Regions from separate parts of the Homo sapiens genome. Here region 2 is linked to region 1. The links are contacts of gene promoters, found by promoter capture Hi-C in blood cells and fetal thymus (Javierre and others, 2016). All regions are on one chromosome and are shown on one strand. Each heading gives the region's core, a stretch centred on a gene start or on the middle of the fragment in contact. The rest is flanking DNA. Distances are from core to core; before and after follow the strand shown. Region 1 holds the start of PSMB5 (proteasome 20S subunit beta 5). Region 2 has its middle 9.5 kb from the start of LINC02332.

The links. Contacts are between HindIII fragments. The CHiCAGO score rates a contact against its expected background, and 5 or more counts as called.
Region 2: a fragment that was not itself captured here is called in contact with the fragment with the promoter of PSMB5 in region 1 in 1 of 17 cell types (neutrophils); the score reaches 5.7 in neutrophils.

Annotation. Positions count from the first base shown.
Region 1 is chr14:23,032,995-23,036,443 of GRCh38, reverse strand. PSMB5 (proteasome 20S subunit beta 5) reads left to right here and starts at 1,544. Exons shown (of 3, transcript NM_002797.5): 1 at 1,544-1,760; 2 at 2,770-3,076. The coding sequence starts at 1,563. RefSeq lists enhancers at 1,070-1,364, 1,149-1,818, 619-1,818. The HindIII fragment of the contact is 18,957 bases long and covers 1-3,449 here.
Region 2 is chr14:22,545,857-22,549,305 of GRCh38, reverse strand. It overlaps TRA and TRAC. Among named protein-coding and RNA genes, the nearest start is that of LINC02332, 9.5 kb to the left of the region's middle. The HindIII fragment of the contact is 4,442 bases long and covers 1-3,449 here.

The sequences.
Region 1 (3,449 bases), core at 295-2,794:
CGTGGCCAATATGGTGAAACCCCATCTCTACTAAAAATACAAAAATTAGCCAGGCGTGAGGCCGGGCACGGTGGCTCATGCCTGTAATCCCAGCACTTTGGGAGGCCGAGGTGGGTGGATCACGAGGTCAGGAGATCAAGACCATCCTGGCTAACACGGTGAAACCCCGTCTCTACTAAACACACACACACACACACACACACACACACACACACACACACACACAAATTAGCCTGTTGTGGAGGCAGGCGCCTGTAATCCCAGCTACTCGGGAGGCTGAGGCAGGAGAATCGCTTGAACCTGGGAAGCAGAGGTTGCAGTGAGCAGAGATCGTGCCACTGTGTTCCAGCCTGGGGGACACAGCAAGACTTGGTCTCAAAAAACAAACAAACAAACAAACAAAAACAATACAGCATATGCAGAGTCTGCTGGGGGAAAGATGGGGCCGAACTGGGCATCAGAGGAAAGTGGAATTTCGGTGTTGATAGATGTTGCTGCTAGAATCCAACAAGGAAGGCCAGAGACTGACTTCATAGAACCATAAAGCAGGAGGCAACATTTCATACATATGCACACTTCCCGGTTTGTTATAGTTCCCAAAAGATTTGAAAAATGAAGGTGGGTGGAGGGAGGAAGAGGCAATGAAATATAGTATGTTCCTGAATAAAAGGCATCATCTTAGCAAGTTGAAGTTAGAGAATCTCTTGGTACATATTTATGCAGTCTCAACCGTCCTCCCGTCTCTGAGATGGTAAATTACTACTGACACTTATTCAGGTCTGAACTGAGAATCTAGTTTGTGGATTAACTGGACCCTTTGCTTTTTCTTCTTCCATCTGCCTTTTAGGCAATTCATTACTTATTCGAATTTCCACCAGAAGGTAGGAGTCAAGAGAACGAATATTGGATATTAATAACCGGTTACTGTTAAAGAAGGGTTGCTGTATGGCGACTGACAACAAGAGGTATAGCACTTTTATTTTGTTGCGTTGTTTTACCACTAATTGCTGTGGTTTAACTAATATAGGGAAATGGCCTCAGAATGGATCATTATTTTACCCAATTTTAGAAGGTGCCCTTAAACAAGATGGCAACCTCAGGCGCGTTAACAAGGTGCTGAAGCAGCAGCGATGTAACCTGTTGCTTGGACACCAGGCTGGAGTGGGAGGACTCACCGCTAAGGGTTCAGAACCGATTTTCAACCAGTCACGCCCTTCTCAAAGATGGCCGACCTCACTTCCCTTACGCAACATGGACGTTTTCAGTCACTTCCTGTGATTTTGAGGTTATTCTGATCCAGGACTACTTGCATGACCAAAGCCAAGATGGCAGGTACGTCCTTTTAGAATTTAAGGTTAGTGAAGCCATCTATTTCCCCGACCCCCTTCAGTGAAAATGGTCTTTCGCATCTGGCTCTTCTTTTTGGAGGCGTGCTTGCCAGCAGTCAAAATGGCTCCATTCCGGAATAGATTTAATAGGAAGTGAAGCTGTGACGGCGAGGCGTTGCCCGGCCTATCTTTGCTAGGCGTTCTCAGAATTAGTTCTTTCTGCCCACACTAGACATGGCGCTTGCCAGCGTGTTGGAGAGACCGCTACCGGTGAACCAGCGCGGGTTTTTCGGACTTGGGGGTCGTGCAGATCTGCTGGATCTAGGTCCAGGGAGTCTCAGTGATGGTCTGAGCCTGGCCGCGCCAGGCTGGGGTGTCCCAGAAGAGCCAGGAATCGAAATGCTTCATGGAACAACCACCCTGGCCTTCAAGGTGTGGAGCCAGCCCCCTTGCCAGGCTGAGTACTGAACGCCCGCGACTTGCCTGGCCTCCCAGCCTGACCGGAGTTTGCGGTGGCCTTGGCCACCAACCCAGGCGGAGGCTGGGTCCTCTCGTTCGGACCGCAGCAGTTTTGCTGTCTCATTGGCCCAGGAGGCCCCTGTCTTTGCTCTGGTTGGAAAGGGTGGCGGTGGGGCCGGGGGTAAGTCGGGGGAGGAAGGTGAGGCCTCTTGGGTTGATTCCTAGGCGACCCCAGGTTGCTGCTGTTCAGGATCTTCTAGCTGGGAAAGGCCGCAACAACAATGAATCTTGGCCGAGGGAAGGCTATTGTAAACGTTTACCAAAGTTTTGGAAACTGGGCGGCCCCTCAAGGCAGGGGTAACTGAAACTGGCATGAAGGGGAAGCGTGGTGAGGGTAAGCATTGTACTAAGAATCAGACATTTGGGGTTCCTTGCCCAGCTCTGCAATAACTAGCTCTAGATTGAGAAATCATTTGATTTCATTGAACCTGTTTCCTCATCTATAAAATGATTTGTTTTTTTTTTTTTTTTGAAACAGGGCTTTTCGCTGTCGCTCAGGCTGGAGTGCAGTGGCTCCAGCGCCTCAGCCTCCAGAGTAGCTGACACTATAGGCACACACCACCACGACAGGCTAAGTTTTTTTACTTTTTGTAGAGATGGATCTCCCTGTGTTGCCCAGGCTGGTCTCCAGCACCTGGCCTCAAGCGGTCCTCCCGCCTTGGTCTCCCAAAATGCCTGGGTTACAGGAGTGAGCCACCACGCCCATCCTATAAAATGAATTTAATATGGGTTATATCCATGTCAAGGGATTGATGTGAAGCTCGGGTGACATTAATATATGGTGAAGTATAGAAGTATACTGTGAAGTATAAAAGGACGGAGAAAGAGATGTGCTGGGTTTGGATTGATGCAAAAAGAAGTATGTAGGAGTGTTTTTGTGGTCTTATGTGGCCTGTTTTGTGTTTTCCTCTGATCTTAACAGTTCCGCCATGGAGTCATAGTTGCAGCTGACTCCAGGGCTACAGCGGGTGCTTACATTGCCTCCCAGACGGTGAAGAAGGTGATAGAGATCAACCCATACCTGCTAGGCACCATGGCTGGGGGCGCAGCGGATTGCAGCTTCTGGGAACGGCTGTTGGCTCGGCAATGTCGAATCTATGAGCTTCGAAATAAGGAACGCATCTCTGTAGCAGCTGCCTCCAAACTGCTTGCCAACATGGTGTATCAGTACAAAGGCATGGGGCTGTCCATGGGCACCATGATCTGTGGCTGGGATAAGAGAGGCCCTGGTGAGTTAAGCTGCAACCACATGATCCTTGGGCTGACACTACAGTGAGGAGGGGTTGGATGGACAGATGAATTAAAGGGCTTGGTGTCAATGCTGAAGAAGTGTAATTAGGTCCTTAGCCCTTCCTTCTCTCTTTTTTTTTTTCCTGTTTTTTTAGACTGTGTCTCATTCTGTCGCTCAGGCTGGAGTGCAGTGGCATGATCTCAGCTCACTGCAGCCTCCGCCCCCAGGTTCAGGAATTCAAGACCAGCCTGGCCAACATGGCGAAACCCCATCTCTACTAAAAATACAAAAATTAGCCCGGCGTGGTGGCGGGCGCCTGTAATACCAGCTGCTCAGGAGGCTGAGGCATGAGAATTGCTTGAACCCAGGAG
Region 2 (3,449 bases), core at 608-3,107, 490 kb after region 1:
TACATAGTGACAAGGGCCATAAAGAGTATAAACACGTACTTTCATATGTTCCAAAAAGTTTTGATCCCTGCACCCCAAATTTTTTCCTTGGTTTCTTCTTAGTAAACGGCACTATCATTGACTCAGCTGCTCAGGCCAAAATCCAGCTGCCTTCCTTGATCCCCTCTTTGCTTTCTCATCCCTGCATGGTTCTACCTTTGAAACCTGAATGGTGTTGGTTACCTCCCTGCCACCACCCTGCCCAGGCCTCCATCATCTCTCTGCTGCAACTGCTCCCTTTCTGCTTCTACTCTTGGCTTACAACCCACTCTCCGTACAGCACTCAGATTGATCTTTAAGAAAAGCAGGCCGGGTGTGGTGGCTCACGCCTGTAATCCCAGCACTTTGGGAGGCTGAAGCGGGTGGATCACCTGAGGTCAGGAGTTCGAGACCAGCCTGGCCAACATAGTGAAACCCTGTCTCTACTAAAAATACAAAAAATTAGCCAGGCATGGTGGCGGGTGCCTGTAATCTCAGCTACTCGGGAGGCTGAGGCAGGAGAATCACTTGAACCTGGGAGGCGGAGGTTGCAGTGAGCCAAGATGCACCATTGCACTCCAGCCTGGGCAACAAGAGCAAAACTCCATCTCAAAAAAAAAAAAAAAAAAAAAAAAAAAAAAGAAAAGCAAATTAGGTGTCCCTCCCCTGCTTGAAGCCGATCAACAGCTTTCTGGCGTCCTTAGAATACTGTCTACCCTCTCATGGCCTAGAAGGCCCTGTGACCCGGCCCTGCCTCCTTCATTCAACTCATGCCTGCTGCTCTTCTCCTTTCTCATTGAGCTCCTGTCCCAGGCCTCTATAGGGTCCTCTCCCTGCCCTTGGTAGGGCTGGTATCTTCAAGTAGCATTTCTTCAGAGAGCCCTTCCCTGACTTTTGTCCTGAAGGTAGCTGTTTTCTCAACCCTGAGTTAAAACACATTCCAATCTGAAGTTATTTGGACTTTTCCCAGCTGACAGATGGGCTCCCCCAACTAGAATGGTGCTTCCTCTGGGCACACCCCTCATCTGACTTTTTAATTCCTCCACTTCAACACCTGGTGCATTCATGTGCCGGCACAATCAGTGATTGGTGGGTTAATGAGTGACTGCGTGAGACTGACTTAGTGAGCTGGGAAAGATTTTTTGGCAGACAGGGAGAAATAAGGAGAGGCAACTTGGAGAAGGGGCTTAGAATGAGGCCTAGAAGAGCAGTAAGGGGCAAACAGTCTGAGCAAAGGCAGGCAGGCAGGAACTCAGTTGGAGAGACTGAGGCTGGGCCACGTGCCCTCTCCTGCCACCTTCTCTTCATCTGCTTTTTTCCCGTGTCATTCTCTGGACTGCCAGAACAAGGCTCACTGTTTCTTAGTAAAAAGAGGGTTTTGGTGGCAATGGATAAGGCCGAGACCACCAATCAGAGGAGTTTTAGACATCATTGACCAGAGCTCTGGGCAGAACCTGGCCATTCCTGAAGCAAGGAAACAGCCTGCGAAGGCACCAAAGCTGCCCTTACCTGGGCTGGGGAAGAAGGTGTCTTCTGGAATAATGCTGTTGTTGAAGGCGTTTGCACATGCAAAGTCAGATTTGTTGCTCCAGGCCACAGCACTGTTGCTCTTGAAGTCCATAGACCTCATGTCTAGCACAGTTTTGTCTGTGATATACACATCAGAATCCTTACTTTGTGACACATTTGTTTGAGAATCAAAATCGGTGAATAGGCAGACAGACTTGTCACTGGATTTAGAGTCTCTCAGCTGGTACACGGCAGGGTCAGGGTTCTGGATATCTGTGGGACAAGAGGATCAGGGTTAGGACATGATCTCATTTCCCTCTTTGCCCCAACCCAGGCTGGAGTCCAGATGCCAGTGATGGACAAGGGCGGGGCTCTGTGGGGCTGGCAAGTCACGGTCTCATGCTTTATACGGGAAATAGCATCTTAGAAACCAGCTGCTCGTGATGGACTGGGACTCAGGGACAGGCACAAGCTATCAATCTTGGCCAAGAGGCCATGATTTCAGTGAACGTTCACGGCCAGGCCTGGCCTGCCACTCAAGGAAACCTGAAATGCAGGGCTACTTAATAATACTGCTTATTCTTTTATTTAATAGGATCTTCTTCAAAACCCCAGCAATATAACTCTGGCAGAGTAAAGGCAGGCATGGGAAAAAGGCCCAGCAAAGCAAACTGTACATCTTGGAATCTGGAGTGGTCTCCCCAACTTAGGCTGGGCATTAGCAGAATGGGAGGTTTATGGTATGTTGGCATTAAGTTGGGAAATCTATCACATTACCAGGAGATTGCTCTCTCATTGATAGAGGTTTTGAACTATAAATCAGAACACCTGCGTCTAAGCCCCAGCACTACCGTTTACTCGATATAAGGCCTTGAGCAAGTCACAGCAGCTCCTTACATCTCAGGAATTTCACCTGCAAAATGAATATGGTGCCTCATCCACCTTCCTAGCCAGGCTCTTCTGAGAAAGAAATGAGAGCTTCTCCATATAAACATCTATTTAATAAACTGTAAAGTACCAAACAAATGTTAGTTGGAGCCACTGACCCTGCCAGAATATGGCCGTGATAGAGTGCTAGTGAGTCATGCAGAGCCACAGCGTCTATCCTTCACCCTCAGAAAGCAGGAGCTGCTGGAGGCTTTTCCTTAGTGCTGAGACTCATTCTTCAGTATTTCCGTAGGATTTTGTGTTTTTAATGTGACTCTCATTGTTTATTCTTTCCGACCTCCTGCCTTTTGAGGAGGAAACAGAGGTTTGCCGGAGGATTAGCATGTTGGGGCCACCCAGAGAGTTTCCAGCAGGGTGGGGATTAGAATTTCCCACCCAGTGGTTCTCTGCTCCCACAGCCCCTCACATGCGCACAAGATTTCTCAGACCCTGGTGATTCCCCGACAGTTGCTGAGCCAGCCCTGGTGGCCTCGGCAATGCAGACATCCAGCTGGATCCAAAACCAAAGAAATCAGCCCCTGGGATGCTGAGTGGGGGCAGAGCTGCCTGCAGCATAGGGCTGTCCCTGGAGCAGTGGAGCAGGGGTGGGCTCCATGGTCAGAGGGGAGAGACATCCAGAGCTTTGGCTCCAGAGGATTCTGCCTACTTCCCTCCTCATGCTTGGGCAGCCTGACATCACTCTGGGTGAAGGCCCTAAGGCATAGTTCCTTTGCTGGGAAGGGACAGACAGAAAGCCATTAGCTCTACCAACACATCCCCCTGATTGTTAGTCATCAGTGGGGGTACTGGACAGCACTGCAGAGGGGGAGAGGAGTCTGGAAGTGCCGATCCTCAAGGCAGGGGATCAGGGGCCACCAGATGCAGGTTGGCTTTAAAGAGGAAAGGGGGTGGCCTTGTGGGGCAGAAACCCAACTTTGAGTCCTGGTTAAACACTCACTCAAGTCCTGGGGCTGGTGGGTGTCAGACTGGAGAAG